3 separate regions of the Homo sapiens genome follow, and regions 1 and 3 are each linked to region 2. Evidence: promoter capture Hi-C in 16 types of primary human blood cells and fetal thymus (Javierre and others, 2016). All regions are on one chromosome and are shown on one strand. Each heading gives the region's core, a stretch centred on a gene start or on the middle of the fragment in contact. The rest is flanking DNA. Distances are from core to core; before and after follow the strand shown. Region 1 overlaps PHKA1 (phosphorylase kinase regulatory subunit alpha 1). Region 2 holds the start of PIN4 (peptidylprolyl cis/trans isomerase, NIMA-interacting 4). Region 3 overlaps HDAC8 (histone deacetylase 8).

The links. Contacts are between HindIII fragments. The CHiCAGO score rates a contact against its expected background, and 5 or more counts as called.
Region 1: a fragment that was not itself captured here is called in contact with the fragment with the promoter of PIN4 in region 2 in 1 of 17 cell types (total B cells); the score reaches 7.3 in total B cells.
Region 3: a contact is called between a fragment that was not itself captured here and the fragment with the promoter of PIN4 in region 2, in 2 of 17 cell types (M2 macrophages and endothelial precursors). The highest score is 5.9, in M2 macrophages.

What each region holds. Positions count from the first base shown.
Region 1 is chrX:72,576,148-72,580,406 of GRCh38, forward strand. It overlaps PHKA1 (phosphorylase kinase regulatory subunit alpha 1), which reads right to left. Exons shown (of 32, transcript NM_002637.4): 32 at 2,667-4,259. Among named protein-coding and RNA genes, the nearest start is that of HDAC8, 5.4 kb to the left of the region's middle. The HindIII fragment of the contact is 3,710 bases long and covers 768-4,259 here.
Region 2 is chrX:72,179,104-72,183,320 of GRCh38, forward strand. It overlaps PIN4 (peptidylprolyl cis/trans isomerase, NIMA-interacting 4), which reads left to right and starts at 2,654. Exons shown (of 4, transcript NM_006223.4): 1 at 2,654-2,725. The coding sequence starts at 2,683. RefSeq lists an enhancer at 2,694-2,913. The HindIII fragment of the contact is 4,711 bases long and covers 1-2,672 here.
Region 3 is chrX:72,536,234-72,541,044 of GRCh38, forward strand. The region is part of intron 4 of HDAC8 (histone deacetylase 8); the gene reads right to left. Among named protein-coding and RNA genes, the nearest start is that of HDAC8, 34 kb to the right of the region's middle. The HindIII fragment of the contact is 4,001 bases long and covers 309-4,309 here.

The DNA of each region.
Region 1 (4,259 bases), core at 1,373-3,872, 400 kb after region 2:
AATGGTCAAAGACCCCTTTTTGTCATTAGAAATTCACTGGTGCCCTATGGAACAAAACAAAACAGGAGGTGGGGAGGAAGCCAGATTGTGGGGGTTTAAGAAGTGAAGCCAACACAGTTAAGTGTAGCTTCCTCTTTGAAAAAATGTGATTGTGAAAGGAAGGAGTTAGTCTAACAGCTTGAGGGGACGTCGGAGCCCAGAAATTTTTTTAAGATAAGAGAAAACTGCACATGTTTATAGACAGGAGAAGCTACAGGAGTTGACTGAAAGGTGAGATCATGATGACGGGCAACATAAGGAGAAATGAGACTTGTTCTGGGCCTTCAGGGATAGGCAGCGGAAAGAGGGCAGGAGATAGACTGGCCAACTGATACCCTAAATTCTGGACTCTTCTTGGATGACATGAAAAGGTATTGTTTCATGTGTCCTTTCTGATCTAGTAACAAATAGCTGAATGGCTCTAAACTGGAAACACTATCCAAGTACCCCATGCAATGTGGCAAGATGATTCAGCTATGGAGAAAGATAAATTGTTGCACAATGCTCTGGAATTGGCAACCTATTCCTGCAGCTAATCTCAAAGGGCGGCTAGACGCTTGCTCATGGTTAAGAAAGAGCACACATCATGCCACAGGTCCCTCACCTCAATTTTCCACATTCGTAACACCCATATGGTTCTTAAACTGGGAAGAAAACCCTTCTCAATGCACTTTATTTGCAGTTGGAGGACTTGAGGTCACAGGAAGTAGGTTGAATCTTGGCTTCAAAGCTTGCTAGGGTGGTGACCCAGGGCAAGTTACTTGACTCACTTTCCTCAATCATTATTGCTAAAAGTAACATTCGAACCGGTAAGTTCAGGTTGGGCTGTGCCATATTTTTTTGGTGCTTTCCCCTGCTTTTCCCCAGAAGGGGAGGCAAACACATTACAAGGGCACCACCCTTCAGTGAATGAGCAGAGTCTTCTCTGCTCATTTCACTATCTGTCCAGTGACACTTCAACTGTCTTCAACTGACCCTTGTCACACCACCCCCTTAATGTCATTTTCCTTGGAGAGTGTCATTGTTGAGAATGTGATCGCTAGCGTCAGACTGCATGGGTTCAACTTCCAGCTCTATCACTTATTAGATGATTGATTTGGGGCAATTTACTTAAACCCTCAGTGCCTCAGGTAGCTTACTTGTAAGATGGCAGTATCTATCTTACATGGCAATTGTGAAGATAAAATGGCTCACGCTAAGTGCCTATATAACAATGGCATTTGGTATGTGCTCAAATATTGGTTATTTAAGAGCCATTATGCCAAATATTTCTATATTTGGTGGGGAAGGGAGTTTCCCCCTACTGTCATCCTTACCCCCATACCACTACTGCACAAGTACTACTAGTGGTTTGAGAATAAGTTCTTGGTTTTTTGGCTTAGCCTTAAAAGAAATCACACATCTGCTAAATATAGGGTGACCATATCTTTCAAACTGAGACATTTTTTGAGAGTGACACAGTGCTATTGATAATTATGCCAGTAAAACAGGCATAAATGGGGGCTGCCCTGGACAAACCAACACCTGAGGTTACTCAAGTTAAAAAGGAAATGAATGTCTACCAAATATAAGAATAAAAATTGATGGCTGTATTTTTTTAAAATTAAATAAATAAAAAGGAAATGAAGACTACATGTGGAAAATAATCTCCACTGCATTAGTGCAGACACTAGGTACTTGGTAAGTAGAAAAAGGAATGGCAGAGGTTTTGCCAGCTGTGGTGAAGAACAACTTTTGCCCCACCAGTTGTGTAAGATTCCCAGAATGTAGTAAAATTTCATTAACCAGGATGGAACTGTAGAGACAATGTTCATCCTTGCTGGATAAATCCTGTTATAGAAAAGGCTAATGAATAGTATAAACAAACAAGATTCTGCCAAATATTTTTAATATTTAGAAAAACAAGTTGTTTTAAAATACCCTTCATTAGGGAAGAAGCACCATTTGTACACAATTGAAAGGCTGAGTAAAAATGTTTTACTCATTCATCAGAAAATGTTCCCTACAGGCCAGGCGCGGTGGCTCACGAGTGTAATCCCAGCACTTTGGGAGGCTGAGGCAGGCGGATCACCTGAGATCAGGAGTTTGAGACCAGACTGGCCAACATGGTGAAACCCCGTCTCTACTAGAAATACAAAAAAAATTAGCTGGGTGTGGTGGCGCATGCCTGTAATCCCAGCTACTCGGGAGGCTGAGACAGGAGAATCGCTTGAATCCGGGAGGCAGCGGTTGCAGTGAGCCGAGATCACCCCACTGCACTCCAGCCTGGGCGATAGAGCAAGACTCCGTCTTAAAAAAAAAAAAAAAGAAAAGAAAAGAAAAGAAAAGAAAAGAAAAGAAAAGAAAAGAAAAGAAAAGAAAAGAAAAGAAAATGTTCCCTACAGATGTCAATAAGCCCGCTTGAATTTAGTAAGCCTTGTTTGAGTGGGTATGTATTTGAATGATTAAACTGCATTTCTTTACATATATTATCTAACATATTATGAAATGTATAATATATTATATATGTATTAATATATTAATATTATTCTACTTCAACCCAATGAATGAGCTTTGACTGTACTGTATAATTAAGCAGAGTATGTAGAATAAAGCCATGAAATAAACTCCAATCACAAAAACACATGTGAAGTTTTGCACATTGGCACCAGACATGATTTAATTGGAAATTCTTATTATTTATTCTATTTTCAAAACATAAGTGCTTTTTTAAAAAAAGTCTAACATGTCTTTTTAGTACCACACACTTAAAATGAACAAAAAACAAGTCGAGTTTTCTTAAAAGTTGCTTTAAAAGTTAAATACCACTGTATGGGGACCATAATGACACAATTTCGTAAACTCAGAGAAATGCAGCCCTTCGAGTAAGTTCAGGCAAATGAGTGTGGGAAGGAGTGGATCTTTTGCCTGTGGCACTACAGATATACTCCCTGAGATTGGGGTACACTTACAACCAGTGAAAAGACAAATAGTTTCAGAACAGGTTGTAAACTTTCTTTAAAAGTGACCAGAAAATAATGTAGTCAGAAAGCTACTTACTGTGTGTTTCCATTTGCTCTGAGAGAAGTGCTGAAAAGGTTTGCTGTCCTCTCTTTGTTTCTACTATCTGTATTCTATCACCCTACTATATGCTTACTTATTCATTATATTCATAAGATTGTCACTGGTTCTGCAAGAATTGTTCAGAGAGTCTCTCATCCCCACCCTCACCATTCCCAATATTGGGGAAAAACTTTAGAAATCCAAGATAAAGGAGGGGGTTGAAGTAGGAAGTTATCTAAGTGCAAAAAGGGAAGTTAACAGAGTCTCTGCACAATTCAGAAGAAGGAGAGTTAGAAGAAACATTTGTCAAGCAAGGCTACCTACATATGGGATGAAGGAAGAGGACTGAAGCTATTCTTCCACCAATCTGTGTGTGTCAATCTGAGTCCACAGTCACATCCCTTCTCTCACATGCAACATTCTTACTCAGTCCATCAAATGTAGATACAGATTGATATACAGACACATCAAAACTGCTTACATTCAGAAAAATTCCCATGTATGCTTATACACACACACACACACACACACACATACACACACAAATATGTGTCTTTATAAGAAACAGACATATGCCCACAGATACCATGATATACAGGGATATGTACACTAGAATTAGGAAGTGAAAATATATATGAAAGAGTTTAAGAATAGATGGGGGGATAGGGTGTCAGGGAGTTGAGTTGGATGTAGTAGAAAGTAGGTGAGTGAGACAGAGACCAGGAGCACATGAAAAGAATGCTAAGTAGAGCACCTATAGACTGGACTGCTGTATTTATCTTTGCTGAATACAGACGCTTCAAATTATTGTCTGTGTTGTGTATTGGCCCATTTTTCAAAGGCAGGGATTAAGCGCATAAGGCTGTCTTCAGGGAACTAAGCCACCTCTGATTCCCTCTCTGTTCCCTATGTATAAGACATTGTCCAGGCATCGTCTCTTCTTTCCCTTCCTCTCTGGAATTGGGCTCCGGGCTCCATTTCTGGGTTATTCTGCATTTTCTGCTGCAAATACAACTCTGAGTACCAACAATCTTTATAAAATGTGATTTCAAGTGTTAGTTCAGAAATTCTTAAATATGCATGCTGTACTTGCATTTTTTTGATATTTCACCAAAGTGAGAGAGGCATTATGTGTGCAGACACAGAGAGGGCAACAGTAGAGACAATGATTCTACATA
Region 2 (4,217 bases), core at 1,404-3,903:
AGGGGCGCCTCTGCCCAGCCGCCCCTACTGGGAAGTGAGGAGCCCCTCTGCCCGGCCAGCCGCCCCGTCCGGGAGGGAGGCGGGGGGGGGGTCGGCCAGCCGCCCTGTCCGGGAGGGAGGTGGGGGGGTCAGCCCCCCGCCCGGCCGGCCGCCCCGTCCGGGAGGTGAGGGGCGCCTCTGCCCGGCCGCCCCTACTGGGAAGTGAGGAGCCCCTCTGCCTGGCCAGCCGCCCCGTCCGGGAGGATGGTGGGGGGGTCAGCCCCCCGCCCGGCCAGCCGCCCCATCCGGGAGGTGAGGGGCGCTTCTGCCCGGCCGCCCCTACTGGGAAGTGAGGAGCCCCTCTGCCCGGCCACGACCCCGTATGGGAGATGTGCCCAGCGGCTCATTGGGGATGGGCCATGATGACAATGGCGGTTTTGTGGAATAGAAAGGCGGGAAGGGTGGGGAAAAAATTGAGAAATCAGATGGTTGCCGGGTCTGTGTGGATAGAAGTAGACATGGGAGACTTTTCATTTTGTTCTGTACTAAGAAAAATTCTTCTGCCTTGGGATCCTGTTGATCTGTGACCTTATCCCCAACCCTGTGCTCTCTGAAACATGTGCTGTGTCCACTCAGGGTTAAATGGATTAAGGGCGGTGCAAGATGTGCTTTGTTAAACAGATGCTTGAAGGCAGCATGCTCGTTAAGAGTCATCACCACTCCCTAATCTTAAGTACCCAGGGACACAAACACTGCGGAAGGCCGCAGGGTCCTCTGCCTAGGAAAACCAGAGACCTTTGTTCACTTGTTTATCTGCTGACCTTCCCTCCACTATTGTCCTATGACCCTGCCAAATCCCCCTCTGCGAGAAACACCCAAGAATGATCAATAAAAAAAAAAAATAAAAAATAAAAAATAAAAAAAAAAAAAAAAGAAAGAAAAATCAAAAGTAAATGTTCCTCTTGGGCCTCTTGGCCATAGATAACCTGATGAACACAAGGCTACGCTGTCATCGTCAACACCCAATCCCAACTCCCCCGCCCCTCCATCTCGCAGCCGAACTTGGAGAATTAGTACAGGTGCGGGATCCACTTCAGAAGTGGCAGAGCAATGATCCCCTCACCACTAGATGTGTCCTCCGCAGTTGATCACTCCCAATCCGAAAACAAGGAGTGCCCAAAATGTGTCCAGAATTTAAAGCAGCCAAACATAAGAGGGCTCCATGTTATGTCTTGAGTAGGGAATGAGCACAGTCTCAGAAACACCTGATTCCCTGGTATGAGCATGAAGCATCTCCAGGTCCAGCAAGGCTGCATCCAAAAACTAAACTCTGAGCTGGAAGACCTCTATATTCTGGCTGGTAGTGGCAAGCTAGGACAGCTCTCTCATGGACTGGAGGAAACGCCCTGACATATCATATACAAATTATTGATGGTGGGAGGGATTGTAAGGGGAGAAAAAGTGTGTGGGCACAAATTCAAAAATCATTTATCTTAGGCAAACATTATTAATATGAGCAAGCCATCATTTTATGTGCTTTACAGATATGAACTTGTTTAATTCTCTTAACACCTGATAGGATAATAGTAGGTACTATTATCATCAACTCCATTTCACAGATGATGAAACTGAGCCAAAGAGAGGTGAAGTAACTTCCTCAAGGTCATGGAGCTAGTAGACAGATGTGGAGCAGGGATTTGAAACTGGGCAATCTGGCTCCAGAATCCATGCTTTTACTACACTATGCTGCACCATTATGGAAATTTTGGAAAATACACAGAAACAAACACGATGACCTGTATGCACTAGCACCACTGGCCACATCTTGCTCTATAGCTTTCCTCTCCTTTATATTCATATAACATACAATACATTACATATACTTCTTTTACAAGGAATCATATTCTTTATCTTGGTCTTAAAAACATTTCCCCTATCTGTACACACAGCCTTACAATCGTTATTTTGAATGTTGTATAATATCTTCTTGTGTGGCTAAAACATTATTTAAGCAGTACCCGACTGAGGAGCACTCAGACTGCTTCCAATGTTTCTCCATGACTGAGCTCTGCAAGACGCAAAAAGGTGACAGGCTTTTTTAAAAACTACCTTTTGAACCTAATTAGCTACAACTGCAGAATAAAATTAACAAACGAAAAACTGCCAGGGAGGGCAGCCCTGTGTGTAGGAGGAGACAGCGGAAGTTGGCCGCCACCACAGTACTCCTGCTTCCCTTTGTCTGGCGGCCCCGCGGGATTGGCCAGAGCTGGCGCCGAGGGACTGCAGAGCCACCCACCCCCGTGGCTCCTACTGCGCACGCGTGAAAAAAGCCAGGTTGAGGGGAACGGGGGAGCTTCGGGCGTAGAGTGTGGGGAGTGGGGGATCTGGTGCAAATTAGGGTGCGTGAAAGAAGTCACAAAAAGCGCAGAGGCCAGGCTTCCCGCCCTAATCCGGCCTTTGTCTCCGCCCCTCTGCCTTTGTTTCGGCCCAAGCGTCTTATTGGTCAGACATCTTCAGCCCCATTGGTCCAAGAGCCAAAGGACGGGGTCTGCCCCAAGCTGTGCCTGCTTCCGGAGCCGCAATAAGAACGGTCAATTGAGATGCGGCTTTCAGGCATTTGTTTAGGACATGCCCATGGCGGGGCTTCTAAAGGGGCTTGTACGGCAACTGGAGCGGTTCAGCGTTCAACAACAAGCTTCCAAGATGCCGCCCAAAGGAAAAAGTGGTTCTGGAAAAGCGGGGAAAGGTAGAGCGGCCAGAGCGATCAAGGAGAATGGGGGCGGGTGAGGAGCGAAGGGAGGGAACAGACAGTCCATCTCCGGAGTCCGGGACGGACGCAGCAGGTAGCCAGTGGCCCCACAGTGCTGCCATCGATTACATCTGTAGGAATACATTGGGCTACGGTTCAGGGACCGTCCTAGTGGGTAATGGAATCTGATGGGGATAGTTCCTCGGAGGCGATGACTTAGGGCTGCTATTTCAAGGGGTTATTAGAGCTCTAAAATTGGGTCTTATCAAAAGCCAGCAATAGGAAGTACACATTGGTTATGGTCCTTAAAGTTCACTTTAATGCTTACAGAATGACATGCCCACCATCGGGGAAGGAATCATTCATCCATTGAACAGAAATGTGTCAGGCAGAGTGCTAAGCGCTGAGGATACACAAATAAGACAGAAGGCTGGGCGCGGTGGCTCACGCCTATAATCCCAGCACTTTGGGAGGCCGAGGGAGGATGGATCACGAGGTCAGGAGTTCGAGACCAGCTTGGCCAACATGGCGAAACCCCGTCTCTACTAAAAATACAAAAATTCGCCAGGCGTGGTGGTGGTGCGCGCCCGTAATCCCAGCTACTCGGGAGGCTGAGGCAGGAGAATCGCTTGAACTCGGGAGGCAGAGGTTGCAATGAACCGAGATCGCGCCACTGCACTCCAGCCTGGGCGACAGAGCGAGCCTCTGTCTCAAAAAAAAAAAAGAGATTTTGGCCTTAAGGAGCTCCCGAAGTAGTGAGGAAGATAAAGGCTTAGTGATCATAAAGCACTGTACTAAATGTAGTGTTGAGGGATGTGTATGGGATATAATAGAAATTGAGGGAAGTCCTTCATTTAGCTGGGGAACAGGGAACGGAAGACTTCCTGGAGATGAATTAGGCAGGTCAAGATGTGCATTGAGGGTAGGTTAAAGCATTCCTTACTTGGGGTCCAGCAGCAAAAGCACTGAGGTGAGAAACAGCATGATGTGTGCAGCGTAGTGTTGCTGGAGCAAAAACTCAAGGCAGAATGGCAAGTGGTGAGAATGAAAACAGAAACAAAGACGAGATCATGGAGAGTGCTATATATTCTGCTAAGAAGGACAGTTAAGGATCAGAAAGACCTGTAAGGAGATTGTTGTGGTAGTCTTGGTGAGAGATGATGGTGGACTGACCTAAGGGAGTGGCTGTGGGAACTGAGAAAAGAGAAAAGATTCTGTAAATATTAGGATGTGAAATAGTCAAGACTTGGTGATTTATTGGGTTGGGGAGGGGTGGTGAGGGAGGATCAACGATCATTCTGTTTTCTGGATTGGATTTCTAACCTGTTGCTGGTCCTGCAGGGTAACATCAAGGATACATGAGGAGCGGGGATGAGATTGATGAATTCACTTTCAGATAGATTGGCTTTGAGGTGTCTGTGGGACATCTCAGTGGAGATGTAGTCAGGAAGTGGTTGGATATTTGAGTCTAAAGTTTGAGGGAGAGGTC
Region 3 (4,811 bases), core at 1,059-3,558, 360 kb after region 2:
AAAGAAGGAGACTGGAAAAAACAGAAATCTTTCTGTTATTTGACTTCATAGTTATATCAAGCAAGTCCTCTTGGACACTTACATGATAGAAACCGGGGTAGAAACCAGGAGACCTAGGTCTCTGCTTCAGTTTTTCATCTTACCAAAAACTCCCTAATCTTACCTGTCTCCTTCAGAGGAATGTTATCATGATAAGTTTAAAGATATTTATTAAAAATCCAAAGTTTTAACTATTGTAATTATGAAACTCACATTTTTTCTCTCATTAAGCCCCCAATTGTGATTTAATACATATAGCTAAATAAATAAGCTTCGTGCACATCTGCTTCTCTCCACATAAAATATACATGCACACAAAATACATGCACCTAATTGTGGGAAATCAGAAATTAGTTCCACATAATGGGTTTTCTTTTAACTACCCACTTGACATTTATAGTCCACTTTAAGGGCTCTGTGCCTAGAGTTGGCAGCTCTAGGAACAGTGAGATCAGTTTGTCTACAGTTGTTCCCAACCTTTTTTGGCTCTGGTACACCTACACTTGCTTCCAAAAATATACCCCACAGTCTGGTGCTCAATGGAATGAAAATCTTTCCTGAGCTAATAGGATATAAAACAGAGGAGGCAGTGGACATAGTTCTGCATTTTAGGGTACTCATAACAGCATAGTGAGCCAAACCAGTGACAATGATGTAATTGACCCAGCACAGAGAGAAAGAAGGTTTGGGCTGTTTCTTCAAAACTGGGATAGATTTATCAACCTACGCCTCCCAGATTGGCCTCCCTTATGACTTAGAATATGCTTTTGAAGAGCTGGCTGGCCAAGGGAAATGGTGCAGCCAGTAGTAGCATTAGAGTAAATGAAAACTAACTGGTTTGTACAAGGACTAAAATCATAGTTTTGGCCTCATTAGCACTATACTCTAACTTTCTGAGCTAACTAACTACAGATATTACCTGAAAGAAGACCAACCTTTAATCAGAAACAAAAATGTATTCAAGTATATGGCACAGATAAATCATTCAGTCTCAGTGACCTGTATCCAATGTTGAGCCTATTCCAAAGTTGCCATCTAATGAGGTGGAAAGATCCTTTATTTACCTGAACAGTTCTAAAAGTTTCATATTTTGTACTATTACACCCAATAATTAATGTTATCTCATGTGAATGGCTTGAGTTCCAACTATTTATACATTTCCTGCAATTAGTATGCATTTGAGAAATTTTTAGTAAATACTGCTATTATTTATTATTAAGCCTTGAATGGCAAGCAGAAATCTGAAGTTAATTGTTGTACCTTCTTTATGGATATATATCCCTCTTATAGTAAATCCACAGATAGGGATTCCTGGTCAAGGCATTAACAAGAGCTTAGTGACCTTCAAGATGCCTCCCAGAGGAGGCTGTCATAATCTCTTAAAGAAAATTTGTTAGTTGTCTGGAATAAAGTCCATAGTTACCAGTTGACTTGATCCACTTTATATGCTTTATTATTACTGTTATATTAAAGTACATCAGGCAAGACTAGTGGTTTAAGCTCCTCTCAATTTATGCCTTACCTCTGCCCCTTATGCCTTACCTTTGTCCTTAGTTTCCAGAAGAGTTTAAAGAGCCATTTTTACTAAATTCCAAAGACAGTACATGAAAGGCATTGAAACTAATGATTATCAGAAGAAAAATCCACTGAATTCTAGCAAAGACCAGTGAGGAAGTGAATGCAGCTTACTAGCATTCCAACTAAATTTAGTAGTATCAGTTGTATAAGAATCTGAGTGGGTAGTTGGATTAAATATTTGCAAATATGCTGAAAAAAAGATGAGTTTTATCTTGGTGATAATACAGTTATATTAAAGACAAGTTGGGGTAGAAAATCATATTGAGGTAAAGCTGTGGAATAATGTGGCTCTATGCAACTTACTTCCTTTCTCTTAGCCCTTGGTTTTGTTTTTCTTTTTTTTTTTTTTTGGAGATGAAGTCTTGCTCTGTCACCCAAGCTGGAGTGCAGTGGCACCATCTCGGCTCACTGCAACCTCCACCTCCTGGGTTCAAGCGATTCTTGTGCATCAACCTCCCGAGTAGCTGGGATTACAGGTGCGCACCACCACACCTGGTTAATTTTTTAATTTTTAGTAGAGACGGGGTTTTGCCATGTTGGCCAGGCTGGTCTCGAACTCCTGACCTCAGGTGATCCACCCACCTCGGCCTCCCAAAGTGCCAGGATTACAGGTGTGAGCTACTGCTCTCGGTCCCTTGGTTCTTATATTTAAACACTGACACTGAAAAATTAGGACTCTTACTACAGTTAAGACATCAGAAGAAAAAAGAAGGCAAAAGATCAATTAGTTTTAGATACAAACTTTGAGTTTGCACCTTCAATTTCCATTTAAAGTTGCCTGAGAAAAGATATCAGGATGGGTTTGGTGACAACAGAAAACAAATAGAAAGGCTTACTCTGGAGTCTATACTGTATTAGAAAATTCACCAATGCTAGAGACACTTGCCCTCCTCTAGCAAGGACTAGCTTCAGGAACGGTTCAGACATATCATAAAAATAGGTGTTGAGAAGAGCAATAAAAATGGGTTGTGTTTCTCAGGCTTTTGAAAAGATTCCATTAAATAGATGGAAAAATACATTAAAATACATAAAACACACTGAAAAATGTAGTACTGAGTATTATGACCAGTATTTCTCAAAACTGTGAAGGTCATCAAAATTAAAGAAAGTCTGAGAAATTGACACAGCCAAGAGGAGCCTAAGGAGACAACTAAATGCAATGTGGTGTCCTAGTGGGATCTGGGGACAGAAAAAGGACATTATGTAAACACTAAGGAACTATAAACTCTGAATAAACTATGGACTGTAATGAGTGATCATGTATCAATATTGGTTAATTGTAACAATGTTTCATACTCATGTAAGATGTTAACAATAGAGGAAACTGTGTGGGGTTTATGGAAACTCTACACTATCTGTGCAATTTTATTTATTTATTTATTTATTTATGTATTTATTTTGAGACGGAATCTCACTCTGTCACCAGGCTGGAGTGCAGTGGCACGATCTCCGCTCACTGCAACCTCCGCCTCCCGGGTTCAAGTGATTCTCCTGCCTCAGTCTCCCGAGTAGCTGGGACTACAGGCATGCGCCACCATGCCCAGCTAATTTTTTTTTTTTTTTGTATTTTTAGTAGAGACAGGGTTTCACCATGTTGGCCAGGATGGTCTCGATCTCTTGACCTCGTGATCCACCCGCCTCGGCCTCCCAAAGTACTGGGATTACAGGCATGAGCCACCGTGCCTGGCCTATCTGCTCAATTTTTCTATAAATCTAAAACCATTCTTAAAAAATGTTAATCAAAATTTTAAAAAGGGTTATTTTGTCAGACCATTTGAAATGATTCCATTAATGAAAAATTCCTAATATGAGGGCCCAGCTCATGGGCCTGGATCCAGGGCAGTTGGAGGCTTCAGCCATCAGATGATAACTAGACAAGAGCTCCGCACCCCCAACAATAACCCAGGTCAGAAAGCTGCAAATCCAGACACCCAAAATCCCTTCAGAGAATTTCAGTGAGAACAATGGATGATTAAGACAATAAGCAAAGTCTGTTTAACTTTCTTTCTCCTGAACAACCCTACAGCTCTCAAGCACATTGTGGACAGCAGGTTTCTCAAGCAGTGAAATCCCCATGTACAAAAGCAGAGCTAATGATTCCCGTGGGGTCAAACAAGCCCAGAGGAACCGCATCCTTCAGCAGCTGCCCACCCCTCCTGAGAAGGAAAGAGCTGATATGGGAGCAGAGGCCTGACTGGGGCTTTAGTGACTCCTAGCTCTGGCTTTACAACATACACTCTTGTCTGACACTATCATTTATACAAATAAGGCACACAAACTCCAAGTCTGACTCTTTTCCTCCTCTTGCCTAAAGATTCTTTAAGACTAAGGATCATGAGTGTTATCTTTATCAGCCAGGTTATGAACTCTGAAGAATGGTTTCTTAATGGAAATACTAACCACTGTTAATTAGCAAAACAAATTTCAAGATGAAAAGTCTGTTGATTCTAAATATTCATTATTTCATTCTTTTATTCAAATTATAAACATTTATTGAAGACCTATTATGAGTCAGATACTGGACTGGTGAAAGAAAATGGTGCAGAATGCTCTGACCTGATGAAACAGTTTAGATGAACATAGATCAATAAATAGAAACGAGAATGACGTTAATAGAATTTCATTAAGCGGAGAACATACTTGATTTAACCTTGCACTCCCTCTAGTGGTTTTTTTTTTTGTTAAAATGTGAAGCTTATATAACAGCCCACAGTCTAGTAATGTTCAATATGCTGGAATCTCTGACATCCTGACTGCTTGACTTTGTGAGCACTGTAATCTCTGACTGCCACGTGGAACCTCTCACCTTCTCTCTCTCCCGGTCCTGATAATTTGATATCTGTCAAGATATTACCACTGATTCATTCAACAAATATTTATTGAGAATCTATCTTGAGAAGGCATTAACTAATCATTCCAATTTAATAACTTTATTTCCCAAACATTTTAACATTCAGTAAGTCAACTGGTAACACTATGATGGACAGTCTCTTAAAGGGTTGGGAATTAACATTTCCTATTCATCTCTGTCCTGCCCATCTACTGCAACTTTCACGCTTGTCCATTCCCCAACAATACGAGCTGGGGCCTTGTATGAGGGCTTACTATGTGCCAGGTAGAGTTCTAGGCAGTGAAGCTATAGTAAGGAACAAAACAGACAAAACTTCCCTTCCCCATGAAGCTTATGCTCTAGT